6 separate regions of the Homo sapiens genome follow, and regions 2, 3, 4, 5 and 6 are each linked to region 1. Evidence: promoter capture Hi-C in human tissues and cell types (Jung and others, 2019). All regions are on one chromosome and are shown on one strand. The core of a region is centred on a gene start or on the middle of the fragment in contact, and the rest is flanking DNA. Distances in the headings are between cores, read along the strand shown.

The links. The method cuts DNA at HindIII sites, captures the fragments that hold promoters and counts their contacts. A contact is called where the count stands out against the background at its distance.
Region 2: a fragment that was not itself captured here is called in contact with the fragment with the promoter of CHRM1 in region 1 in 1 of the 25 tissues and cell types used here (dorsolateral prefrontal cortex).
Region 3: a fragment that was not itself captured here is called in contact with the fragment with the promoter of CHRM1 in region 1 in 4 of the 25 tissues and cell types used here (bladder, dorsolateral prefrontal cortex, lymphoblastoid cells and 1 more).
Region 4: a contact is called between the fragment with the promoter of ASRGL1 here and the fragment with the promoter of CHRM1 in region 1, in 1 of the 25 tissues and cell types used here (spleen).
Region 5: a fragment that was not itself captured here is called in contact with the fragment with the promoter of CHRM1 in region 1 in 1 of the 25 tissues and cell types used here (aorta).
Region 6: a fragment that was not itself captured here is called in contact with the fragment with the promoter of CHRM1 in region 1 in 2 of the 25 tissues and cell types used here (dorsolateral prefrontal cortex and mesenchymal stem cells).

Annotation. Positions count from the first base shown.
Region 1 is chr11:62,918,590-62,923,157 of GRCh38, forward strand. CHRM1 (cholinergic receptor muscarinic 1) reads right to left here and starts at 2,774. Exons shown (of 2, transcript NM_000738.3): 1 at 2,629-2,774. It overlaps LOC105369333 (a long non-coding RNA gene), which reads left to right and starts at 1,571. Exons shown (of 5, transcript XR_002957251.2): 1 at 1,571-1,852. RefSeq lists an enhancer at 3,098-3,632. The HindIII fragment of the contact is 6,896 bases long and covers 1-4,568 here.
Region 2 is chr11:63,729,917-63,734,484 of GRCh38, forward strand. The region is part of intron 3 of RTN3 (reticulon 3); the gene reads left to right. Among named protein-coding and RNA genes, the nearest start is that of ZFTA, 37 kb to the right of the region's middle. The HindIII fragment of the contact is 5,544 bases long and covers 1-4,568 here.
Region 3 is chr11:63,592,903-63,597,470 of GRCh38, forward strand. All of the region lies in intron 3 of PLAAT3 (phospholipase A and acyltransferase 3), which reads right to left. Among named protein-coding and RNA genes, the nearest start is that of PLAAT3, 19 kb to the right of the region's middle. The HindIII fragment of the contact is 6,558 bases long and covers 1-4,568 here.
Region 4 is chr11:62,335,248-62,339,815 of GRCh38, forward strand. ASRGL1 (asparaginase and isoaspartyl peptidase 1) reads left to right here and starts at 2,201. Exons shown (of 7, transcript NM_001083926.2): 1 at 2,201-2,327; 2 at 2,643-2,920. The coding sequence starts at 2,731. RefSeq lists an enhancer at 2,112-2,781. The HindIII fragment of the contact is 36,513 bases long and covers 1-4,568 here.
Region 5 is chr11:63,494,813-63,499,380 of GRCh38, forward strand. It overlaps LOC124902684 (a long non-coding RNA gene), which reads left to right and starts at 656. Exons shown (of 2, transcript XR_007062702.1): 1 at 656-797. The HindIII fragment of the contact is 7,313 bases long and covers 1-4,568 here.
Region 6 is chr11:63,450,008-63,454,575 of GRCh38, forward strand. No RefSeq gene overlaps it. Among named protein-coding and RNA genes, the nearest start is that of PLAAT5, 39 kb to the right of the region's middle. RefSeq lists enhancers at 2,441-3,002, 3,003-3,563. The HindIII fragment of the contact is 7,919 bases long and covers 1-4,568 here.

The DNA.
Region 1 (4,568 bases), core at 1,524-4,023:
ACCCGGCTGCAGGGAAGCTAAGTGAGGTGCCAGGACAGACATGGACGTGCCAAAGCATTTGTCACTGGGGAGAGGAGAATGTTAGCCTGGGCTCAAAGGGTTAAGGGATGAGGTCAGAGCCTTTATTACAGCAGGCCAGACTGTTGACTCCCAGCGCCCAGGACCAATCCCTAGGGGCTGGGGATCTGGCTTGTGAGAGCAACTGGGAGTGGAGAGAACCACTGGGGGAGGCAGGGAAAGGGAAATGGGGAGAGGGATTCCTGAACACCAGGCTTTTCTGAACGTACCGCTGGCCAAAGAGTACAGAAGGGGAGGGAGGGAATGAGGGGATGCTGGGGAAGATATTTAGGAGGGAGGAGCGGAGCCATCTTGTGATTCTGGGCCTGGAAGCTGGTAGAGTCCTGGTTAGGAAGAGGGGATAACATTGGGGAGTGGGAGGTATGTGGAGGGGGCTGTGGGGTTGGGCACCTGAGGCCTCACATATGCAATGAGGAGGGCGCTCCTTCTGGCCAGGTCTACTCACTGATCCCTTCTGCTAGGGCCTGACCCCAGAAGCCAGCCCATACGAGGCAGCTCTCCCCTCGGGGTTAACTTTTCTTTGACAGCAGCTCTTGACCCATTAAGGTGCACAAAACTTCCACCCCTGATGTCTGGCTTTGAGAATGAGGGAGTAAACAGAATTTATCACATTTTTAAGGCTCAACAGTTGCCATTGGGAGGGCCAACTAGTCTTGTGGAGGGCAGCAGCCATCAGTTAAATGCTACATGAAACACACTGCTTAGCTGGAAGAGAAGCATCAGCCCTAGAATCACTGCCAAATTTGCTCACCCATGATGGATCTTAAGCAGTTGCCTGACTTTGGCCAGACCATGACAGAGCCTGGGCATGAGCAGCTGGACCCTAGACCTCACTCTGCCAGTGTGGCATCAGAGGTTCTGGGTCCCTCATCCTCCTCTCCGCAAGCCCCCTGCTCCTGGCTCCTTGCACTCTCCTCCTCATTTCCTTTCTTCTCTCTCCCTCCCTCCTCCATCCTTGTAGGCATCACCATGGCACCACAGCAGAGCAGAAACCCAGCGCAATTCACCCACCTCTCCCCGCCTGCTGGGAGCCCAAGCTTCTGCGTCTCAGAGCTTACTGCGCCCCCTGCTCTCCCACCCCATCTTCCTGCTCATGGAGGCGGCAGCGCAGTGTTGTGCTGAGGATGCGGAGAAGGGGTCCGAGCCCCAGCTGGATCCCTACATATCCCTTCTCCGACCATGAGCATGTCCCTTTCCCTTTCTCAGCCTCAGTCCCTCCATACAATAGAAAGCCTCCTTTCTAGGTCTGACATGACCTCTGGTTAGCCCCTTCTTGACACTTTGGACTCCCCATTACACTTCAGAATCCAGTTCTCAGAACTCCAACCGCCAGCTGTCAGCTGCGAGCCAAGACCCACATCTTCTGCAGCCCATTTCACTATCTCCTTCCCTTTCATATCTCAGCCGCGATAGCGACTGCAGCTTGCCTGGTGGCTGAGGTCAGAGGGCAGAGAACTCTCATCTGACAGCCCACTGAACAGCTGATTACCCTGAGAAAGGAGACTGTCTGGCTACTGGAGACTGCCTGACTCCTTCCAGCCAGTTGGGCAGGGGTCTTGGGTCAGTCTGGGTGGAGCTGCAGGTGTGTTTTGTGCAAAGATGTGAACCCCTCTCCATTGGCTCTGATAACCTCTAAGCTGCACATGTCTGGATGACCTAATGAGAGCTGACGACCCCCTCCCCAGCTGGCCTGCCCAGGAGCTGACAACTCTACAAGCATCAGAGTTCCTGGCCCCTAGCCCATCCCCATGTTGTGCAGTCTGCGGGCACTGGGGTGAGTACCTGGCGTGGGTGCCCATTGGTATCCATGCATTGCCTGGATATAGGACTGAGACCCACCCTGCGGGAGCCCAAGATACTAGAAACATAAGGAGGGTCCTCTGGGCCCCTGCGCACGTCAGGGCCACCTTCCCTGGCTAGTGTGGCCACCCACATGCCCATTTGTCCCCAAAGAGCCCTGGGGCTCTTTGCCTGGTCTCCTGCTGGCTTCTGGCCTGACACCCACCTTGGCTTCTAGCTTCTCTATCTGGCCAGCAGCCTGATTCAGTCCATCTTGGGGGAGCTGAGGTGGACGGGGGTGGTGGGTTTCAGGGTGCCCTGAGGGAGGACAGGAGGTTCTGGGACTGGCACCCCCATCAAGATGGGGGTCAACCTCCCACAGGATGCTGGTGGCAAGGGCTGCTTCCTGGCCCTTTGCCCTTCCCACTCTGCCCCTAGGGTGTTGGGGGTTCTGCTTGCTACCAGGCAGCCTAATCCCTTCTGGGCCTCAGGTCCAGTTTCCTGAGGGGGATCTCCATCTCCTCTGCCAGCAGAAGCCCAGAAAAACATCAGCTATATCCACTCAAAGCCAGGAGGCCGAGTGTTTGGAGCAGTCAGTGTTCAATGCTACAGAGCCCCCTTGCCCTCTAGACCCCTCCCTGGCCTCCTCCTATCTCTGTGAGTCCATCCCTATTTCCATCTCATCCTGATCCCTGCCCTCCCCCGCTCCCCAGGACCCTCCTACCCTCTACCTTAGTGCAGCCCCTCCCAAGCCCTCCCAAATGTACTCACCACGGGGCTGAAGAGGGGTCTGTAGGGTCCTCAGCCCCACTGCCTCCCTGGGGGCCTGCGGCGTCTCCAGGGACCCAAACACCTGGCTCCCAGGGGGAGCTGCGCCCTGTGCTGGCAGCGGGAGAGGCACAGCCAGTGATTGGCATGTCCCACCCCCTGGCACGCCAGCCTTAGCGGGGAGGGAGAAAGGGAAAGAGAGGGAGGGAGGAAAGGGAGAAAAGGAAGGGAGGGGAGCTGGAGGGAAGCCTCAGGCAGCGTCTGGGGTTGGACTAGGTTCTGGAGTGTGCCCCCCTCCTTCACCAGGGCACCCAATTTGAGCCCCAAGAGGGAGGAGAAAGGACATGAGGAAGGCGAGCCCAGGAAGGCTAAAAGTCCCGGACGGGAGAGAAGGCGGATACAGGGAGACAAACACCCACACCCACTGCACAGACCCGGCGGCACACACACCCTCACAAAGGCACACTGTTTCCTTGGGCTCCTCCCCCCACCCAACCTTAGAGCCCCCAGCCCCTGTGCACCATGCCCCAACACACATGCCCTGGTATTCACATGCCTGCTTCCCTCGCACACACGCCCTCCCCCCTGCACATGCCCACGCACCCACCCACCCAACTACACACCCTGCTCTTCCTCCCTGCTGTGAGAGAGCTAGATTCCTTCTGTTTGGAAATGACACATTGGGCCTCACGTGAGAGGCTCCAACTTGGAACAGACCCAGAGGGCTGGCGCACCCGCCCGGGGGCTGAGTGAACGTGCCCGCATGCTGGGCTGTGTGCGCTAGCATTGGGCTATGCATAGCCTGTTGTGAGGGTATATGGGTGTCTGCTTTTCGGGGATGAGTAGAGGGCCAGGTGCCTGCCCCATGTGCGGCTGAGTGCCTTGCATATGTGTGTCCCTGTGTACTCATGTCACCATGCAGCCTGTGTAAGTGCAGGTGTGACCCTATCAGTCTGGAGGCAGGACGCGTGTGCACACGTGTGTCTGTATCTGATGTGTGGCTGAGTGTTGCCCAACTGTGGAACTTGCTAATTCTGACAAGTGAGGCAGCCTCTACCTGCCTGCTCCACCCCAAGCTTCCACTTGGAAGACAGACAGGCAGACAGACAGCTCTCCTCCCAGCTTGTCAAGCTCTGTCTCCCCTGACTCCCACTCAGGGCTCACAGGTGTGTACCTGGGAGGAGATGAGCCCTCCTCCCAATCTCCCTCAGCCCTACTGGGTGAGGCCAGCATCCCTCCCTGCCAGGCTGGTCTGGACTTCTGTGTTGAGCTTCCTCAGAGATAGAACCCCTGGGGGGCCGTTTGCCCTAGAGATGTGGGTCCTGCACCGCCTCTGTTTGGCCCTAGAGACCTCCCCGGGAGCTGACTGGGGAGGAGAGTTGGAGGCTGCAGGGACTGCCTTCTGGGGCTGCTGTGTTCTTTGCCCACTGGGCTGTGTCGAAGTCTTGGGGTGAGAGGTGGGAAGGAATGGGAGCATCAATTATCCCCATTTTGTAGGTGAGAAATCTGAAGAGCAGAGGTATGATTAGCATGTGGTGGGCAGGTGTTTGGGCTCAGGTCACTTGGCTCTAAGCCCAGGGCTCTGGAGTCTGGGGCAGGGGTTTCCCCTACTCATTTCCCCACCAAGCGCCGCCCCCCGCCCCCACAACCCCGCCAATGCTGGTGCCTGAGGGTAACCTGGGGCTTTCTCACCCAGGAGCCCAGTTGGCCAATGGAGCCAAGTGGAGCTGAAACTGGAGTTCCTGGGGTTTGGTCAGCAGCTACTGGTGGGCACACGTGGCAGGTACATGTGGGGGCATCTGTGCTTCTCAAAGCCAGCTGGGGTTCCAGCAGGCACCCAGTCCTCCTCCCTGCTGAAGTCAAGCAGACGCTGCAGCTTGGAGAGAAATCTAAGTGAGCATCCCCTTTCCATCCCAGGGTCACCCAGCCGGTCAGGGTTGGGT
Region 2 (4,568 bases), core at 867-3,366, 810 kb after region 1:
TGGGACTATAGGTATATGCCACGATGCCCAACTAGTTTTTAAATTAATTTTATTTTTATTTATTTTTTGAGACAGAGTCTCACTCTGTCACCCAGGCTGGAGTGCAGTGGCGTGATCTCAGCTCACTGCAACCTCTGCCTTCCGGGTTCAAGGGATTCTCCTCCCTCAGCCTCCCAAGTAGCTGGGATTACAGGCACTCACCACCACGCCTGGCTTATTTTTGTATTTTTAGTAGAGATGAGGTTTCACCATGTTTGTCAGGCTGATCTCAAACTCCTGACCTCTAGTGATCCACCCTCCTCGGCCTCCCAAAGTGCTGGGATCATAGGCGTGAGCCACCGTGCTCGGCCAAAAGATGTTATTTAAATATAAAGACACAGGTTGAAAGTAAATGGATGGAAAAGATATCCCAAAAAATTTATAAATGTATGCCATGCAAACAGTAAGCATAAGAAGATGAAAGCTTTTATCAGAAATAAATAAGGGACATCTTATCATGATAAAAGATACCAGGAAGTCTTGACAGTTATAAGTGTGTATGTGCCTAATAATGGCTTCAAAATACACAAAGCAAAAATTGACAGAATTGGCTGGGCAATGGCCCATGCCTGTAACCCCAACATTTTGGGAGGCCAAGGTGAGAAGATCACTTGAGACTAGTTTGAGACCAGCCTGGGCAACATAACCCTTAACCCAACATAACCCTACCCTGGAGTTTTTTTGTAGAGACCCCCATCTCTACAAAAATTCAAAAATTAACTGGTTTGGTGGCATGCATCTGTAGTCCCAGCTACTCAGGAGGCTGAGGCGGAGGATTGCTTGAGCCCAGGAGGTGGAGGCTGCAGTGAACCATGATCACACCACTGCACTCCAGCCTGGTGACAGAGTGAGACCCTGTCTCCCAAAAAGGCAGAATTAAGGAGATATATTGGCAATCTGTAATAATTGGAAAATTTAATACCTCTTTCTCAGCAATTAACTAGACACACCCAGGTATCTGAACAGTACAATCAATGAATTTGACTTAGATGGTGGTTATAGAACACTACTCCCTACAATAGCAGAATACACATTATTTTACAAGTGTATAAGGTATGCATTCATTGGTATCGATAATATACTACTAGGCCCACAAAACAACTCAGCAAATTTCAAAGGATTTTTTTTTTTATTTATTTATTGGAGACACAGTTTCACTCTGCCTCCCAGGCTGGAGTGCAGTGGTGTGATCTCAGCTCACTGCAACCTCTGCCTCCCGGGTTCAAATGATTATTGTGCCTCAACCTCCCGAGTAGCTGTGATCACAGGCGCGTACCACCACGCCCACTAATTTTTGTATTTTAAGTAGAGACAGGGTTTCACCATGTTTGCCAGGTTGGTCTCGAACTCCCAACCTCAAGTGATCTGCCCACCTTGGCCTCCCAAAGTACTGGGATTATAGATGTGAGCCACTGTGCCTGGCCAAATTTCAAAGGATTTAAATCATACAAAATATGTTCTAAGGCCATAATGAATTTAAGCTTTAAATTAATGAAGATATCTATGATGAAGACAACATCTAGGAAAATTCCCAAATATTTGGAAATTAAGACAGTTTTACCTAATCTATAGATAAAAGAAGAAATCACAAGAAAAATATTAAGTGATTTAAACTGAATCACTTAAACTGAACAATGAAAATAAATCAAACTTGTGGAATACAGTGCTGAGAGGGAAATTATATAGCTTTATTTATTTTTTATTTTTTATTTTTTTGAGATGAACTCTCGCTCTGTCACCAGGCTGGAGTGCAGTGGCACAATCCCGGCTCACTGCAACCTCTGCCTCCCGGGTTCAAACGATTCTCCTGCCTCAGCCTCCTGAGTAGCTGGGATTACAGGCGTGCGCCACTACACCCAGCTAATTTTTGTACTTTTAATAGAGATGGGGTTTCATCATGTTGGCCAGGATGGTCTCGATCTCTTGACCTTGTGATCCGTCCACGTTGGCCTCCCAAAGTGCTGGGATTACAGGCTTGAGCCACTGCGCCCAGCCATGTATATAGCTTTAAATGCTTATATTGGAAAAGACAAAAATCTAAAACAGTGATCTAAGGTTCGAACTTGAAAATCTAGAAAAAGAAGAGCAAAGTAAACCCAGTAAGTAGAAAGAAAAAAAAAGAGCTGAAATCAATGGAATAAAAAAACAAACAATAGAAAAAATTAACAAAGCCAAAATTTGGTTCCTGGAAAGTTCAACAAAATTATTTTTTATTTTTTTGGAAACAGGGTCTTGCTCAGTCACCCAGACTGAAGTGCAGTAGCATGATCATAGTTCATTGTAATCTCAAACTCCTGGGCTTCAGCGATCCTCCTGCCTCAGCCAAGTAGCTAGGACTACAGGCAGGCATCTAGGGACTACAGGCACGCACTATCATACTTTATTAATTTTTAAAAATTTTTTGTAGAAATGGGGTCTCATGTTGCTCGGGCTGGTCTCGAACTCCTGGCCTCAAGTGATCCTCCCACCTTGGCCTCCTAAAGCGCTGAGGTTATAGGTGTGAGCCACTTTTGGCCAAAATTATTTCTTGACTGGACAAGAAAAAAAAAAAAGCACAGATTACCAATATCAAGCATGAAAAAAGGGTTTTCCATTCAGATCCTACAGATATTAAAAGAACAGTAGATTATTATGAACAATTTTATGCCAACAGATTTATCAACTTAGAGAAATGGACAAAATCCTTGAAAAATGCTACTTAATGCTAACACAATTTATATTAAAGAAATTAAATTCAGTATCAAAACTCTTTCCACAAAGAAAATTCCAGGCCCAGAGTTTTCACTGGAGAATTCTTCGAAGCATATAAGGAAAAAGGAGAGGAGAATACTTCCCAATTTATAAACTAGTATATATGTCATATATAATACATATGTATAGAGTAATACCAAAACTGGACAAAGACATGGCAAATACAATTATAGACTAATATTATTCATGAACGTAAATGAAAAATCCTTCAGAAGATATTAGCAGATCATACCAGCAACATAATAAGATAATGAATGCATCAAGGCTAATTAGGGTTTGTTACAGGATATACAGGATACAAGGTTGTTTTAAGATTAAATAATCAGGGCTGGGCTCAGTGGCTCACGCCTATAATCCTAGCACTTTGGGAGGCCGAGGCAGGTGGATCACTTGAGGTCAAGAGTTCAAAACCAGCCTGGCCAACATGGTGAAACCCTATCTCTACTAAAAATACAAAAAAAAAAAGGCTGGGCACAGTGGCTCACGCCTGTAATCCCAGCACTTTGGGAGGACCGAGGCAGGCACATCATGAGGTCAGGAGGGAGGACCGAGGCAGGCACATCATGAGGTCAGGAGATCGAGACCATCCTGGCTTACACGGTGAAACCCCGTCTCTACTAAAAACACAAAAAATTACCCGGGCGTGGTGGCACGCGCCTGTAGTCCCAGCTACTTGGGAGGCTGAGGCAGGAGAATCGCTTGAACTCAGGAGGTGGAGGTTGCAGTAAGCCAAGATTGCACCACTGCACTCCAGCCTGGGCGACAGAGACTGTCTCAGAATAAAAAAAAAAAAGATTGGATAATCAATATAATTCACCACATTAACAATGAAGAAAAACTATGGCATAAGTTCAGTTCATAAAAAGTGTTTGAAAATGTTTGGCTGAGTGCAGTGGCTCATTCCTGTAATCTCAACACTCTGGGAGGCTGAGGTGGGAGACTTGCTTGAGCCTAGGAGTTCAAGACCAGCCTGGACAACAAAGTGAGACCCTGTCTCTACCAACAAAAAAAAAAGGAAAAGAAAAATTAGCTGGGCGTGGTGGCGGTGGTGGTGTGTGTCTGTAGTCCCAGCTACTCGGGAGGCTGAGGCAGGAGGATTGCTTGGGCCCAGGAAGTCGAGGCTGGAGTGAGCCATGATTGTACAACTGCACTCCAGCCTGGGTGACAGAACAAGACCTTGCCTCAAAAAGAAAAAAAAACACCACATACATACGTATGTATATATGTATATACACACAGACACACATATATATATACACACACACATTCAGTGAGATCCTGTTTCTAAAATTTTTAAATAAAAAAAGTTCGATATCCTTTTCTGATAGAATTTTCTACAAACAAGGAATAGAAGGTAATTCCCTCAGTCTAATAAACAGCATCTGTTGAAAACTACAGCTGATGTCATCCTTAATACTGAAATGCTGAACACTTTCTCCTGAAGATTGGGTACAATGTTCACTCTCACCATTTGTATACAACATACTGGAGGTCACTTTGGGAGGCCGAGGTGGGCAGTTCATTTGAGGTCAGAGTTTGAGATCTGCCTCACCAACATGGTGAAACCCCCATCTCTACTAAAAATACAAAAATTAGCCAGGTGTGGTGGTGCACACTTGTAATCCCAGTACTCAGGAGGCTGAGGCAGGAGAATCCCTTGAACTCAACAGGCAAAGGTTGCAGTGAGCCGAGATCACACCACTGCACTCCAGCATGGGTAACAAATCAAGACTGTCTCAAACAAAAATAGCCAGGCACAGTGGCTCATGCCTGTAATC
Region 3 (4,568 bases), core at 1,417-3,916, 670 kb after region 1:
TCATCTATCCCACATGACTCCTGTGAAACTCAAGTGAGATGCAGGTAGAAGCATCTTTTCCTTTGAAGGAGTATCACTGACCTGATGGTCTGTGACACACCTGTCCACCTGTCCACCCGGGTGCTTGTCATGCCTTCCCCAACCCTCTATCTACCACACACACCTGCTCAGTGCAGCCAATCAATACTGAGGCCCTACTGGGTGCCGGGCCTTGTCCAAGGTGCTGAAGTCAGTGACGTGATCTGGACAGCAGGCCTGCCCTCAAGCAATTCCCATGCTACTGAGAAGACGCTGACAATGAACAAATACACAAAATAAGATACTTGCAGGTACCAACAGACACTATGGAAAGACAGAGTGGAGTGACATGGCAAGGATGACCAGCAGAGGCTGCTGTTGCTCAGGCTGGGGAGGCCACCCCAAGGAAAAGGCATCTTTGCTGAAGCTTGAATGATGAAGCATCTAGAACAGAAGGAACAGCAGGAATGAAGTCTGCAGGGAGGAGAGAGCTTGGCATGCCAAGAGGCAGCAAGGAGGCCAACGTTGCTGGAGTCTAGAGACCCAGGAGGGGAGAAGAGAAAGACGAGGCCCAAAGTCACAGACCAGGCCAGACCAGGCCGGGCCCTACAGGCCACAGTGTAGACTTTGATGCTTTGTTTTGGTTTGGTTTTGGTTTGTTTTTTTGAGACGGGGTTTCACTCTGTCACCCAGGCTGGAGTGCAGTGGTGCAATCTTGGTTCACTGCAGCCTCCGCCTCCTGCTCGTGCCTCAGCCTCCGCCTCCTGCTCGTGCCTCAGCCTCCAAGTAGATAGGACTACAGTGGCGCGTCACCATGCCCGACTAATTTTTGTATTTTTAATAGAGACGGGGTTTCGCCATGTTGGCCAGGCTGGTCTCAAACTCCTGATCTCAGGTGATTCACCCACCTCAGCCTCCCAAAATACTGGGATTACAGGCATGAGCCACCGCACCTGGCCCTTGATTTACGCTTTCAAACAATCACACCACCTGCCCATGAATGAGGAACTGGCCGTGAGTGGCAAGAGGCAGAGAGACCAGCCAGAAGTGACACTGCCACCAGGCGAGGGAGGGTGGTTGCTCATACCAGGGCGCTGCAGTGGGGATGGTAAGAAGTGGTCAGAGCTGGGGTCTGTTTCAGAGATAAAGCCAACAGGATTCCCTGATAGATTAGACATGGGTTGGAAGGAACGGAGAATGACTCCTAGGCTTTAGGCCTGAGCAGCTGAATGGTGTCTTCCACTGGAGCCTCCCATTTGGGGCAGATCAAGTTCAAGATGCCAGGTAGACACCCAAGTGGAGTTACCAAGTAGTCAAGAGGTTATGCAAGTCTGAAGCTGAAGGGGGATGTAAATTGAGGGTTTGGGCTTAGGAGATATTGACAAATAGAAGGTATTGGAAGCTAAGGAATCCAATGAGGTCATCTGAGCTCGATTTAGGGAAATGAGAGAGGAGGAGGAGCCCACACAAGAGACCAAAAAAGAAGGGCCCAGAGGGAGAGGAAGAAAGTCAGGTGCCAGGTGGAGAGCAGGAAGGTCACTCACATCAAATGCTGCAGAGAAGCCAAGTCAGCTGTGATGGGACTTGGCTTTAAGCTTTGGCAAGATGTGGAAGCTTTTCCCTACCCTTGAGAACTGCTCTGTCAGGGGGGCAAAAAAAGAGAGTCTGAGAGCAAAACTCCATCTCAAAAAAAAGAAAAAAAGAAAAAGAAAAAAGAAAGTGTGGGTATAGGGGATGGAAGGCAGAATGGGAAGCGAGGAACCGGAGGTGGCCAGGCAGACAAAGCTGTAATGAGATCTGCTCTGTAGGGCGTTAAGCAGAGAAGGATGTGAGGCCGGGCGTTTGATCAACGGGATATATTACAGCTGTCTCTATGTCAATACGAATGATCCAGTTGAAAGGGAGAAGATGACAATACAGAAGGAGGTGGGGAATTTGAGGAGCAAAGTGCTTATGAAAGGAAGAGGAGGGGGTGGGGGTACATGGGTAAGGGGCTCAGGGTGGGGAAGATGACATCTACTCTGGTTACTACTGATAGGGTGAGGCCACTAGTTAGAATTAAAACGATATGCAAAAGACATGTTCAAGGGCCGTGCGCGGTGGCTCACGCCTGTAATCTCAGCACTTTGGGAGGCCGAGGCAGGCAGATCACTTGAGGTCAGGGGTTTGAGACCAGCCTGGCCAACATGGTGAAATCCCATCTCTACTAAAAATACAAAAATTAGCTGGGCATGGTGGTGCGTGCCTGTAATCCCAGCTACTCCAGAGGCTGAGGCAGGAGACTCGCTTAAAAGCAGGAGGTGGAGGTTGCAGTGAGCCAAGATCATGCCCCTGCACTCCAGCCTGGGCCACAGAGCAAGACTCCGTCTCGGAAAAAAAAAAAAAAAAAAAAGAGTGTCTATAACAGCTCTATTCATAGCAGTCAAAACCTGCAATGAGTCTGATGTCAGAAAAATGGATGCTAAATTGTAGCATATTCATATAACAGAAAATACACAGCAGTGAAAAAGAATTCCTGCTACTCACAGCAGCATGGATGACTCACATGGGCATGATGTTGGCTAAAAGAAGCCAGACACAAAAGAGCACGGGCCGTGTGATACCTCTTCCATGAAGTTCTAGAACAGGCAAAACTCATCTATGGCAGGAAAAGCTAGAATGATGGTTGCCTGGGCGAGGCGTGGGGAGGCATATTGTAGAAGCATGAGAGAGCCTTTCAGGGTAAGTGGCACAGTGGGAATGTTCTAGATGTGGATCTGGGGCACTGTTACATGGATGGTTTTTTTTAATTCACTGACTGTATACTTTACTATGCTTGTACATTTTACAATACTTATGTTATACCCCAGTTTAAGTTAAAGGCTTAAGAGAAGGGTGAGGAATTCTCACAAGAGTTCTCCAAGTTAAGTATTCATATCCTCAGTTTGCAAAAAAGGAAATCAAGGCTGAAGAATGGAAACTGGATTCATAACCAAGTCTCTCTGCCCAAACACCTGCACTCTTCCCAGGAGCTTTACGCTTAAGAGTTGAGTGTGTTGCGGCCGGGCACAGTGGCTCACGCCTGTAATCCCAGCACTGTGGGAGGCCAAGGAAGGCGGATCACGAGGTCAGGAGATCGAGACCATCCTGGCTAACACAGTGAAACCCCGTCTCTACTAAAAATACAAAAAATTAGCCAGGGGTGGTGCCAGGTGCCTGTAGTCCCAGCTACTCAGGAGCCTGAGGCAGGAGAACGGCGTGAACCCGGAGGCAGAGCTTGCAGTGAGCCGAGATCGCGCCACTACACTCCAGCCTGGGCGACAGAGCGAGACTCTGTCAAAAAAAAAAAAAAAAAAAAAAAAAAAGAGTTGAGTGTGTTGCATACAAAGTCACGGCATAAAAAACACATCAAAACAGAGCTTCGTCCTCAGATGCCACCTTGGTCCCTCTACAGCAGCGGTCCCCAACCTTTTTAGCACCAGGGACTGGTTTTGTGGAAGACAATTTTTCCATGGACTCGGCAGTGGGGAGGGATGGTTTCGGGATGATTCAAGCACATGACATTTATTGTGTACTTTATTTCTATTATTATTACATTGTAATATATAATGAAATAATCATACAACTGACGATAATGCAGAATCAGTAGGAGCCCTGAGCTTGTTTTCCTGCAACTAGATGGTCCCTTCTGGGGTGACGGGTGACAGTGACAGATCATCAGGCATTAGATTCTCATAAGGAGTGATATGGTTTGGCTCTGTATCCCCACCCAAATCTCATGTCAAACTGTAATCCCCATGTGTCAGGGGAGGGACTATATGGGAGGTGACTGAATCATGAGCGAGATTTCCCTCATGCTGTTCTCATGATAATGAGTGAGTTCTCACAAGATCTGATGGTTTAGAAGTGTGGCACTCCGGACATGGTGGCTCATGTCTGTAATCCCAGCACTTTGGGAGGCTGAGGCAGGTGGATCTCCCGAGGTCCAGAGTTCAAGACCAGCCTGACCAATATGATGAAAATCCATCTCTACTAAAAATAGAAAAATTAGTCGGGCGTGGTGGCAGGTGCCTGTAATCCCAGCTACTCGGGAGGCTGAAATAGGAGAATCACTTGAACCTGGGAGGTGGAGTTTCCAGTGAGCCGAGATTGTGCCATGGCACTCTACCCTGGGCAAGAAAAGCGAAACTCCATCTAAAAAAAAAAAAAGTGTGGCACTCCCCCGCCTCCTGCCACCATATAAGACCTGCCTTGCTTCCCCTTCACCTTCTGCCATGATGGTAAGTTTCCTGAGGCGTCCCCAGCCATGCAGAACTGTGAGTCAATTAAACCTCTTTCTGAAGGGCCGGGCGCGGTGGCTCACGCCTGCAATCCCAGCATTTTGGGAGGCTGAGGCAGGTGGATCACGAGGTCAGGAGATCGAGACCATCCTGGCTAACACGGTGAAACCCCGTCTCTACTAAAAATACAAAAAATTAGCCAGGTGTGGTGGCAGGCACCTGAGTAGTCCCAGCTACTCAGGAGGCTGAGGCAGGAGAATGGCGTAAACCCAGGAGGCGGAGCTTGCAGTA
Region 4 (4,568 bases), core at 951-3,450, 580 kb before region 1:
CTTGCCAAGAGACCTTGATTTTATCCAGGGCCATGATGTACCCTGCTAAAATAAAAACTCAGACTCTCTTGCCACTAGGGGCAGCCCCCCAATCCAGTTCTGGCCAATAAAAGTCCACTTGGAGGACTTCTAGGAAAGCTAGAGAGCTTTCCTGAATTAAAGGAACAAAGGGGAGCTGGCAAAAGCCTTCTTCCCTTTGCCCTTCCCCATTCCTTCTGCCCCAATAGTGATCAAGGTGCCTAGGAGCACCATAAATGTGAAAGCCACATGCTGAAGGGAAGAGAAGGAGATGGGACATCTGTGTCACCTTGGAGCTGCTGCACCAGCCTGGGCAGCAACCACTAGATGTCTTGTTGTTGTTGTTGTTGTTGTTGTTGTTATTGTTGTTTTCAAATCAACAGTTATCTGGTTAAACCACTGTGGTCACGTTTCGTCAGGGACAGTTGAATACAATCCTTAATCCATAAAATGATTGTTGATGGAACATCGTCTACAGAGGAGTTAGCCAGATTCCTTCTCCTATCCCACAGAGCCGGACAAAAAGATGCTTCCTCTTTCCTCCTCAAAGACCAGAAGTTTATTTTCTAGAGAATTTATCTAAGAGACTTTGGATTGGGATGGGGAATACGAAGCCCATCAGAGAAGTAGATAAACGCATGAGGCTGAGATGGGAGGATCAAATGGAAACCAACATTCTACCTGCTTGGGCCACCAGCCACCTTCCCCAGCCTCAGCCAGATCACTGAATTCCAGATCAATCAGGAAAAACAGTAGAGATGGGGTTTGAGTTAGGGCTAGGCATAGGGTAGGGTTCAGGTTCCTATAAATAGCTGAAACCAAATGATGGTGAGCTGTATTATGATGACACAACTAGGCTCACGACCAGTTGAGACGTGCTAAAATAACCCTCTTCCAAGAGGTGAGTGTGGGAGACAGAATAACGGCCCTCAAAGGTGTCACATCCGAATCTCCACCTGTGAACACTCCTCACATGGCAAAAGGGACTTTGCAGATGAGAATAGAAATTGTAAGAAAGGGAGATTATCCTGGGTTATCTGGGTGGGCCCAATGTCATCCCAAGGGACTTCCTTTAAGAAGGAGGCAGGAGAGTCAGAGTCAGAAAAGAAAATCGTGATGATGGTGACAGAGAGAGAAGTGACGTAGCAGCAGAAACAGGCCAGAGGGAGAGAGAGTTAAAGATGCTAGGCTGTTGGCTTTGGCAATGGAGGATGAGGCCATGAGCCAAGGATACAGGCAGCTTGTAGAAGCAAGAAAAGACAGATTCTCTTCTGGAGCTTCCCGAAGGAACTCAACCCTGCAGACCCAGTTTGAATTTCTGACCACCAGAACTGTAAGATAATGTGTGTTGTTTGAAGCCAATAAATTTGTGGTAATCTCTAACAATAGGTCACTAGAAAGGGAATGACTGATCCTTAGTGGGGTGCCAGGGAGAAGGCTTTGCAGGAGGGGTTCATTTAAACTGGGCCTTAAGGCAGGAAACGAAGGTAAAACAGGAGTAAAGGGAATTCCCAAGAGTGGTAAAATATGTTATCAGTTGTGGGTAAACAAGAAGGGAAAGGACTCTCCTATCCACAGGAGATCAATCACAGTTTGCCTGGATCTGTCCCTGTTTATGCCCATTGTCCCAGTATAATTTTTTTTTCTTTTGATTCGGAGTTTCACTCTTGTTGCCCAGGCTGGAGTGCAATGGCGCGATTTCCACTCACCGCAACCTCCGCCTCCCAGGTTCAAACGATTCTCGTGCCTTAGCCTCCAGAGTAGCTGGGATTACAGGCATGCGCCACCACGCCCAGCTAATTTTGTGTTTTTAGTAGGGACAGGGTTTCTCCGTGTTGGTCAGGCTGGTCTCGAACTCCCGACCTCAGGTGATCCGTCCGCCTCGGCCTCTCAAAGTGCTGGGATTACAAGGCATGAGCCACTGCGCACAGCCTAGCGTTGCTTTTCAATCTGCAATTACAAAATCGTGGCATGCCACTTCACGCTTCTCGCCACCAACCCAACCACCCAGCCCCTAGCCTGGTCAGGAGCAGGAGGTTCCCCGCGTGCCACCAGGAAGCTCGGGCCGGCCAAGAGCGTAGACTCTTGAGAGGAGTGAGACAGGTGCGCGCCAGCCGGCCTTCGGGGCTTTATGGGAACTGGGCCGTGCGGCGGTCCCGCCCTCGTGCGCAGGCGCAGAACCGTTGTGACCAGAGCGGTTGCGGGCTGAGCGGTTTCGAGCCGGCGTCGGGGAGCGGCGGTACCGGGCGGCTGCGGGGCTGGCTCGACCCAGCTTGAGGTCTCGGCGTCCGCGTCCTGCGGTGCCCTGGGTAAGTCGGCGGCCCTCCCGGAGCAGCCGCCCGAGACGCGGGAGGGCGAATGAAATAAACGAAAATAGACATTTTCCCGAAGGCGAAATAGACATCCTCCTTCGGCGCCGGGGCTTGGAGGCGGGCGGCGGTGGGCGCGGGTTAACGTCCCCGGGGAAACTGAGACCCCCAGCAGGTCCGGGCCGGGGGCGGAGAGGAACGCGGGAGGGCGCCGGGCCCCTGGGCTTTTCGTACCAAGCTCGACCGAGCCGCCCCTACCCACCCCCAGCTGCGAACCCAGCCGTTCAGAACAGAGACTGGGCATTGTCCCCACAGGGTCTCCCGAGGACCTTGTACCCGCGCGGCTTCCTTGGGCTGGCTTTGGACGACGCTTTCGCCTTCCTGCTGCCTAGGATCCGCCGACATGAATCCCATCGTAGTGGTCCACGGCGGCGGAGCCGGTCCCATCTCCAAGGATCGGAAGGAGCGAGTGCACCAGGGCATGGTCAGAGCCGCCACCGTGGGCTACGGCATCCTCCGGGAGGGCGGGAGCGCCGTGGATGCCGTAGAGGGAGCTGTCGTCGCCCTGGAAGACGATCCCGAGTTCAACGCAGGTAAATGTGCCTTTCAGCTAGTAAATAATGTGAGTCAGGTCAAGCTCCTTCTTCAGAATAAATAGAACCTACATAGTGTTAGGGAATCTAATGAGCTTTGGGGTGAAACTAAGTATGTAAAAAAGAAACAATATTTAATTTTTCTACCTGTGCTGAAAAGAGTCAAACGCTAAAATATTTGTAGAGATTTATACTGAGGCAAATATGAGTGACCAATGGCCTCTGATACAGCTCTTGGGAAATCCTGAGAATGTGTGCTTCTGGAGAGACATAAGATGTCAATCAGTACATACAAGACATACATTGGTTCCATCTGGAGAGGTGAGACTACTGGGGGAGGGGGAGTGGTTTCCAGGTCATAGTTAAGATTCAAAGATTTTCTGATGAACAATTGATTTAAAGTTTTGTCCAAACACCTGGAATCCACAGAAGGGAATGTCTGGATTATATAAGGACTTGTGGCTGCAGATAGAATTAATAGAAGGCGGTTTAGCACGGTGGCTCACGCCTGTAATCCCAGCACTTTGGGAGGCCAAGGCGGGTGGATCACCTGAGGTCAGGAGTTCGAGACCAGCCTGGCTAACAGGTGAAAAGCCACCTCTACTAAAAATACAAAAGAAAAAAAAAAAAAGCCAGGCGTGGTGCTAGGAGCCTGTAACCCCAGCTACTCGGGAGGCCGAGGCAGGAGAATAGCTTGAACCTGAGAGGCAGAGGTTGCAGTGAGCCGAGATCACTCCAGCCTGGGCGACAGAGCGAGACTATCTCAAAAAAAAAAAAAAAAACTGAAAAAAGAAGGGAATGTCTGCATTAAGATAAGAGGTTGAGGAGACCAAGATTTCCCTTAGGCAGAGGAAGTCTCCAGGTAGCAGTCTATTGAGAGAATAAATTGTAAATGTTTCTTATCAGAGTTGATTCTCTCCTGAATCAGGAAAAAGGCCTAGAAAAGGAAGGGGATTCTCTTCAGAATGTAGATTTTCCCCACAAGAGATAGCTTTAGCTTTGCAGGACTATTTCAAGATATGGCGAAGAAACGTAATTTGGGGTAAAATACTTCACTTTCAGGGCTTGCTATCTGTCATGTGATGTCATACTAGAGTCCCGCTGGAATTTGGTATCTTATTGCTACAAAGTCTGCTTTGTCAGTCTTAAGATCTGTTTTAATGTTAGTGCTGGTCAGCTGGGCCTGAATTCCAAAAGGGAGGAGGGAATAATGAGGCATGTCCTACCTCCCCCGACAAGGTTCCAAAGTTTTCAGGTTAACTTTGGAGTGCAGAGTGTATTCCTTTGTGTTTCGCTTCTTTCACTCAGTCCACCCTTTTTTGGAATACTAATCATTATAGCTAATATGAGTATCTACCATGTATCAGGCAGTGGTCTAAGAAATTTGCTTGATTTATTGAATCTGAACATTAAATGAGTTGATCATGTAACTCTCTTAAGTTGGTTAACTTGTGTTAAACTAACTCAAGTTAACTCATAATGAACATTAAATGATTCACTTATGAGTTAATCACTTAAACTCAGTTGAGTTAAATGAGTTAGGTATAAGTTAGGCATAATTATTATCCTCATTTCTCAGATCAGACTAAGGCATAAACAGATTAACTTGGTGGAAGACATTCATCTCTTTGTTTTAAAATGGCAAACC
Region 5 (4,568 bases), core at 983-3,482, 580 kb after region 1:
CTTTCTTCCCAAAATACAGATGGGCCTTGAAGGTCCTATAGTGAAGTTCTATTGGTGATTAACTGCTGGTTCTCACGGTGCTGAGATGAGGACCTCAGTGCTTCCTGTGACACCATGTGGAGGAGCTGAGATGGAGAAGCAGAAGGACTTCTAATTCTGGAAAGGCCTGTTAAATTAAGCTTAGCCTAAAGCTGCCTCCTTACGTATTTTAAGTTCAGCCTAAAGGTTTCTCTGTACATAGTGAAATGTAACTTAACTGGATGTGTAAACAGACTATAACCTACTCTTGTGCCAGCCACCGAGTTTTAGCCAACTGTTCAAATCATGTTCAAATAAGGCAAATGCCAAGCTGTAACCCGTCCAGCTGTTGCTGTACCTCACTTGTTTCTGTATATCACTTTCCTTTTTCTGACCATAAATCATCTTCGACAATGCAGTATCACTGGAGTGTCTCTGAATCTCCTGTGATTCGACAGGTTGCCTGATTCATAAATTATTTGCTCATTTAAACTATGTTCAATTTAATTTGTCTTTCTTTTGACACGCCCAAAGGGAGACCCAGGTGCCTCTCTGGCGGTGGGGGGTGAGAGTCCTCAGTGGCAGAGAGTGTTGGAATGAAAGAACTTTGCCTGCACACTGTCTCTATGGAGACCACATACACAAAGGCCCCCAGCACAAGAGAACTACGCAGAGCTGGAGGGAGTCCATGGACTGTCCCACGGCACACTAGAATCTATCACCTCTGTCCCTTCTCCATGCTCCCAACTGCAAAGGGAGGAAGAGGTGGTGTCTTTGAGGTAGACATAGTAGCCCCTGTCATCCTTCTATTCCAGGGTACTGCAGTGGGAGGGAGGGTGCCCAAAGGAGCAAACCGTGCTCCCCACATCCAGGCCCTTAGCCATGCATCTCACCTGCCATTAGTAGGATATGGAATCAAAAGCTTAACATTAATTATGGCTTTTGTTTTGAATTTCTACTTTTTACTATGGACATTTTCACATACATATGAAAGTAAGAAAGAAAAGAAGTATTCTGTTTGAGAAATGCAAGCCTCCTTTAAATTATCAGACCCAAAGAGACACTGGAATGAGAAGCAGTCGTGTCCCACTGCCCCCTTAAGCTTAGTAATGATTTCGAAGCTGCTTGCTAGGCAGGCTCCAGACTGAGAACCCACATAGCCTGCCACCCTCTGGATTATACCCATGGCATCTTTTTTTGTGGGGGGATTGGGGGGGATATTCATCCCTTCAAGGATTTATCCATTGTGTTACAAACAATCCAATTATATTCTTTTATTTTTAAATGTATAATTAAATTATTGACTATAGTCTCCCTGTTGTGATATCAATACTAGGTCTTATTCATTCTATTTTTTTGTACCCATTAACAATTCCCCCTCCCTCCCACCTCCCCACTACCCTTCCCAGCATCTGGTAAACATCCTTCTACTCTGTATCTCCATGAGTTTAATTGTTTTGATTTTTTAAATCCCACCAATAAACGAGAACATGTGATGTTTGTCTCTCTGTGCCCGGCTTATTTCACTTAGCATAATGACCTCCAGTTCCATCCATGTTGTTGCCAATGAGAGAATCTCATTCTTTCTCGTGGCTGAATATTACTCCCTTGTGTATATGTACCACAGTTTCTTTATCCATTCATCTGCTGAGACACTTTGCTTCCGAATCTTGGCTATTGTGAACAGTGCTGCAGTAAACATGGGCATGCAGATATCTCTCTGATATACTGACTTCCTTTCTTTTGGGCATATACCTAGCAGTGGGATTGCTGGATCATATGACGGCTCTATTTTTAGTTTTTAGGAACCGCCAAACTATTCTCTATAGTGGTTGTACTAATTTACATCCCCACCAACATTGCACAGCAGTTCCCTTTTGTCCACATCCTCCAGCATTTGTTATTGCCTGTCTTTTGGATACAAGCCATTTAATTGATATATCATTGTAATTTTGATGTGCATTTATCCGATGATCAGTGATGTTGAGCACTTTTTCATTTGCCTGTTTGCCATTTGTATGCCTTCTTTTGAGAAAATGTCTATTCAGATCATTTGCCTTTTTTAAAATCAAATTATTAGATTTTTTTCCTATAGAGTTATTTGAGCTTGTTATATATTCTGGTTATTCATCCCTTATCAGATAGGTAGTTTGTATATGTTTTCTCCCATTCTGTGGGTTGGCTTGACACTTTGTTGATTGTTTCCTTTGCTGTTCAGAAGATTTTAACTTGGTGTGATCCCATTTGTCCATTTTTGCTTTGGTTTTCTATGCTTGTGAGGTATTCCTCAAGAAACTTTTGCCAAGACCAACGTGAAAGTTACCCCAATGTTTTCTTGAAGTAGTTTCATGGTTTGAGGTCTTAGATTGAAGTTGTTAATCCACTTGATTTGATTTTTATATATGGCAAGAGATAGGAATCAAGTTTCATTCTTCTGCATGTGGATATCCAATTCTCACAACACCATTTATTGAAGAGATTGTCTTTTCATCCAATATATGTGCTTGGCACCTTTGTCAAAAATGAGTTCACTGTGGGTGTATGGATTTGTTTCTGAGTTCTGTATTCTGTTCCATTGGTCTATCTGTCTTTTTATGGCAGTAGCATGCTGTTTTGATTACTGTAACTCTGTAGTATAATTGGTAGTCAAATAATGTGATTCCTCCAGTTTTGTTCCTTTTACTCAGGATAGCTTTGGCTACTCTTGTGATTCCACACAAATTTTAGGATTTTTTTTTCAATTTCTGTGAAGAATTACATTGGTATTTTGATAGAGATTGCACTGAATCTGTAGATTGCTTTGGGTAGTATGGACATTTTAACAATATTGATTCTTCCAATCCATGAACATGAAATATCTTTCCATTTTTTGTGTGTCCTCTTCAACTTCTTTCATCATTGTTTCACAGTTTCATTGTAGAGATATTTCACTTCTTTGGTTAATTCCTAGGTCTTGGATTTTATTTGTGGATATTGTAAATGGGATTACTTTTTAAACTTCTTTTTCAGATTGTTCACTGTTGACACATAGAAATACTACTGATCTTTGCATGTTGATTTTGTATCCTGCAACATTACTGAGTTGGTTTATCAGTTCTAATAGTTTTTCGGTGGACTCTTTAGGTTTTTCCAAATATAAGATCATATAATCTACAAACAAGGATAATTTTACTTCTTCCATTCCAGTCTGGATGCCCTTTATTTCCTTCTCTTGTCTAATTGTTCTAACGAGAACTTCCAGTTCTATGTTGAATAACAGTGGTGACAGTAGGCATCCTTGTCATGTCCCAAATCTTAGAGGAGAGGCTTTCAGATTTTCCCCACTCAGTATGATACTAGCCATGCCAGCTGGTATCTCCCTAGGTCACATGCCACCCTAATTGATTGGCTGTATACCCAACCTGGCACTAGAAGTTGCCTAGGAATTGCAGTTCTTGTGTCCTAGACTGCCTTTCAAGTTTACCTAGGACCCCAGAGCACTTCACCCTGTGGTGGCTAGGCTTGCCAAGAAACTCAAGTTCTGACCACTGGCTAGGGCTGGTTCAAATGCTCCCTCCATGCCTGAGCGCTGGCTGAGCCCAGCATGGCTTTATTCTCTGCTGTGACAGAGCAGCACTGAGTTCCATGTAAAATCCTTCAGTCACCATGCTCTCCCTCCCCAGAGTGCACAGATTCTCTTCTCTATGGTGCATGGCCACTGCTAGGGGGTGGGGTAGGGGTGGTGTCAGCAATTCAAGACTGTCTCTCTTGCCTTCCTCAATGTCTCTTTCCACAATATGAAGTGAAAACCAGGTACCACAGTTGCTCACCTGATTTTTGGTCCTCGTGATGATGCTTTTCTGTGTGCAGATAGTTGATAAAATCTGGTGTTCCTGTGGTGGGGGGCGGGTGGTATAGGCTTCTATTCCACATCTCGCTCTGCCCCTTCTCTGTTTTTCATGAAGGACACTAGAATCTTCCCAGTCATCAGGTTCAAGATACTGGAGTCACTCATCCATCCCCTTTCCCTCGACTCCCTTATTCAGCTGGCTGTCAGGTTCTGTCAATTCTTCTTGCCTAGTATTTCTCCTAAATATCCTACCCTCTGTTCCAGAATGATTTGAAACTGACCTCTAGAGAAAGAGGATCCGTGGAAGAGTTTTCTAGTGATCTAGAAGGCTATCAGATAGAAGAGGGAGGCAGAGATATAGACCAAAGTAGGTGAAAGTACACATTAGTCCCTCCTCTAGGCCCCAAGAGTTACACCCATTCAGAAGCAGGGATTGTGAAAGAGCCTGCTGGAACAAAGAAGGGGACAGAGGGGGCCACCTCAAGATCCCTGACCACAAATTATTTTTCCTAGGCTGTTAATTGATAATTGATTAATAATAGTTATAATTGGGGTATTATAATTAGTAAATTATAATTTTTTATTATAATTTTAAATTTATATATAATTTTAAAATTATAATTTACTAATTGTAATGCCCCAATTATAATCTGTGGCCAGTTAGAAGAAGAGTATGGGACTAGTTTGTGCTTGAGCCACAATTCCAGGTCTACTGGGATAA
Region 6 (4,568 bases), core at 1,333-3,832, 530 kb after region 1:
CTCCCACTTATGAGAACATGCAGTGTTCGGTTTTCTCTTCCTGTGTTAGCTTGCTGAGAATGATGGTTTCCAGCCTCATCCATGTCCCTGCAAAGGACATTAACTCATTCCTTTTTATGGCTGCATAGGATTCCATGGTGTATATTTACTACATTTTCTTTATCCAGTCTAACATTGATGGGCATTTGGGTTGGTTCCAAGTCTTTGCTATTGTGAATAATGCTGCAATAAACATACATGTGCATGTGTCCTTATAGTAGAATGATTTATAACCTTTTGGGTATATACTCAGTAATGGGATTGCTGGGTCAAATGGTATTTCTGGTTCTAGATCCTTGAGGAATTGCCACACTGTCTTCCACAGTGGTCAAACTAATTTACACTCCCACAAACAGTGTAAAAGCTTTCCTATTTCTCCACATCCTCACCAGCATCTGTTGTTCCCAGACTTTTTAGTGACCACCATTCTAACTGACGTGAGATGGTATCTCACTGTGGTTTTGATTTTCATTTATCTAAAGACCAGTGATGATGAGCTTTACTTCATATGTTTTTTGGCCGCATAAATGTCTTCTTTTGTGAAGTGTCTGTTCATATCCTTCACCCACTTTTCGATGGAGTTGTTTGTTTTTTCTTGTAGATGTGTTTAAGTTCCTTGTAGATTCAGAATATTAGCCCTTTGTCAGATGGATAGATTGCAAAAATTTTCTCCCATTCTGTAGGTTGCCTGTTCACTCTGATGATAGTTTCCTTTGCTGTGCAGAAGCTCTTAGTTTAATTAGATCCCATTTGTCAATTTTAGAATTTTAGTTTTTGTTGCAATTGCTTTTTGTGTTGTAGTCATTAAGTCTTTGTCCATGCTTATGTCCTGCATGGTATTGCCTAGGTTTTCTTCTAGGGTTTTTATGGTTTTAGGTTTTATGTTTAAGTCTTTAATCCATCTTGAGTTAATTTTTGTATAAGGTGTAAGGAAGGGATCCAGTTTCAGTTTTTTGCATATGGTTAGCCAGCTTTCCCAGCACCAATTATTAAATAAGAAATCCTTTCCCCATTGCTTGTTTTTGTCAGGTTTGCTGAAGATCAGATATTTGTAGATGTGTGATGTTATTTCTGAGGCCTCTGTTCTGTTCCATTGGTCTATATATCTGTTTTGATACCAGTACCATGCTATTTTGGTTACTGTAGCCTTGTATTATAGCTTGAAGTCAGGTAGTGTGATGCCTTCAGCTTTGTTCTTTTTGCTTAGGATTGTCTTGGCTATGCAGCCTCTTTTTTGGTTCCATATAAAATTTAAAGTATTTCTTTCTAATTCTGTGAAGAAAGTCAATGGCAGCATGATGGGAATTGCATTGAATCTATAAATTACTTTGGGCAATATGGCTATTTTCATGATATTGATTCTTCCTATCCATGAGCAGGGAATGTTTTTCCATTTGTTTGTGTCCTCTCTTATTGAGCAGTGGTTTGTAGTTCTCCTTGAAGAGGTCCTTCACATCCCTTATAAGTTGTATTCCTAGGTATTTTATTTTCTTTGTAGCAATTGTGAATGGGAGTTCACTCATGATTTGCCTCTCTGTTCATCTATTATTGGTGTATAGGAATGCTTGTGATTTTTGTACATTGATTTTATATCCTGAGACTTTGCTGAAGTTGTTTATCAGCTTAAGAAGTTTTGGGACTGAGACAATGGGGTTTTCTAAATATACAATCATGTCATCTGCAAACAGAGACAATTTGACTTCCTCTCTTCCTGTTTAAATACCCTTTATTTCTTTCTCTTTCCTCATTTCCCTGGCCAGAAGTCCCAATACTATGTTGAATAGGAGTGGTGAGAAGGGGTGTGTTTGCCTTGTGCCAGTTTTCAAAGGGAATGCTTCCAGCTTTTGCCCATTCAGTATGATATTGGCTGTGGGTTTGTCATAAATAGCTCTTATTATTTTGAGATATGTTCCATCAATACCTAGTTTATTGAGAGTTTTTAGCATGAAGGGGTGTTGAATTTTATCGAAGGCCTTTTCTGCATCTATTGAGATAATCATGTGGTGTTTGTCATTGGTTCTGTTTATGTGATGGATTACATTTATTGATTTGTGTATTTGAACCAGCCTTGTATCCCAGGGATGAAGCCAACTTGATCATGGTGAATAAGCTTTTTGATGTGCTGCTGGATTTGATTTGCCAGTATTTTATTGAGGATTTTCGCATCAAAGTTCATCAGGGATATTGGCCTGAAATGTTCTTTTTTTGTTGTGTCTCTGCCAGGTTTTGGAATCAGGATGATGCTGGCCTCATAAAATGAGTTAGGGAGGAATCACTTTTTTTCTATTGTTTAGAATAGTTTCAGAAGGAACGGTACCAGCTCCTCTTTGTACCTCTGTTAGAATTCAACTGTGAATCCATCTGGTCCTGGGCTTTTTTTGGTTGATAGGCTATTAATTACTGCCTCAATTTCAGAACTTGTTATCAATCTATTCAGGGATTCAACTTCTTCCTGGTTTCGTCTTTGGAGGGTGTATATGTCCAGGAATTTATCCATTTTTTCTAGATTTTCTAGTTGATTTGCATAGAGGTGTTTCTAGTATTCTCTGATGGTAGTTTGTATTTCTGTGGGACCAGTGGTGATATCCTGTATGTCAGGCCTCTGAGACTAAGCTAAGCCATCATATCCCCTGTGACCTACATGTATACATCCAGATGGCCTGAAGTAACTGAAGAATCACAAAAGAAGTGATATTTAAATGGCCTGTTCCTGCCTTAACTGATGACATTCAACTGCAAAAGAAGTGCAAATGGCCAGTCCTTGCCTTAACTGATGACATTAGCTTCTGAAATTCCTTCTGGCTCATCCTGGCTCAAAAAGCTCCCTGACTGAGCACCTTGTGACCCCCACTCCTGTCTGCCAGAGAACCCCCCTTTGACTTTAATTTTCCTTTACCTACCCAAATCTTATAAAACAGCCCCACCCTTATCTCCCTTCGCTGACTCTCTTTTCAGACTCAGCCTGCCTGCACCCAGGTGAAATAAACAGCCTCATTGTTCACACAAAGCCTGTTTGGTGGTCTCTTCACACAGAAGCGAGTGAAATTTTGGTGCCATGACTTGGACCAGGGGACCTCCCTTGTGAGATCAATCCCCTGTCCTTCTGCTCTTTGATCCGTGAGAAAGATCCACCTATGACCTCAGGTCCTCCGACTGACCAGCCCAAGGAACATCACACCAATTTTAAATCCAGTAAGCGACCTCTTTCTACTCTCTTCTCCAACCTCTCTCACTATCCCTCAACCTCTTTCTCCTTTCAATCTTGGCACCACACTTCAATCTCTCCCTTCTCTTAATTTCAGTTCCTTTCCTTTTCTTGTAGAAACAGGAGATGCATTTTATCCGTGGACCCAAAACTCCAGCACCGGTCACAGACTCAGGAAGACAGTCTTCCCTTGGTGTTTAATCATACGCGGATGCCTGCCTGATTATTCACCCACATTTCAGAGGTGTCTGACCCCTGACCCCTTCTCTCCATTTCTCTACCCCTTCTCCACTTTTATGGGGGGCAAGAACACCCCCAACCCCTTCTCTCCATGTCTCTACCCCTTCTCCACTTTTCTGGGGGACAATAACCCCCTGACCACTTCTCTCCATGTTTCTTGGGGAGCAAGCACCCCCCACCCCTTCTCTCTGTGTCTCTACTCTCTCTTTTCTCTGGGCTTGCCTCCTTCACTATGGGTAGGCTTCCACCCTCCATTCCTCCTTCTCCCTTAGCCTGTGTTCTTAAGAACTTAAAACTGTCAGGCCTCTGAGCCCAAGCTAAGCCATCATATCACCTGTGACCTGCAAGTACATATCCAGATGTCTGGTTCCTGCCTTAACTGATGACATTCCACCACAAAAGAAGTTAAAATGGCTTGTTCCTGCCTTAACTGATGACATTACCTTGTGAAATTCCTTCTCCTGGCTCATCCTGGCTCAAAAGCTCCCCCACTGAGCACCTTGTGACCCCCACCCCTGCCAGCCGGAGAACAACCCCCCTACTTTGACTGCAATTTTCCTTTACCTACCCAAATCTTATAAAATGGCCCCACCCCATCTCCCTTTGCTGACTCTCTTTTCAGACTCAGCCCACATGCACTCAGGTGAAATAAACAGCCTTGTTGCTCACACAAAGCCTGTTTGGTGGTCTCTTCACATGGATGCAAGTGAAAAAAAACCTCTTCAACTCACACATGACCTAAAACCTAAATGCCTTATTTTCTTCTGCAACACCCCTTGACCCCAATACAAACTCGACAGTGGTTCCAAATAGCCAGAAAACGGCACTTTCAATTTTTCCATCCTACAAAATCTACATAATTCTTGTCATAAAATGGGCAAATGGTCTGAGGTTCCTGATGTCCAGGCATTCTTTTACACATCGGTCCCTCCATAGTCTCTGCTCCCAATGCAACTCATCCCAAATCTTGCTTCTTTCCCTCCCACCTGTCCCCTCAGTCCCAACCCAAAGCATCACTGAGTGTTTCCAATCTTCCTTTTCTACAGACACATCTGACCTCTCCCCAGGCTGCCCCTCACCAGGC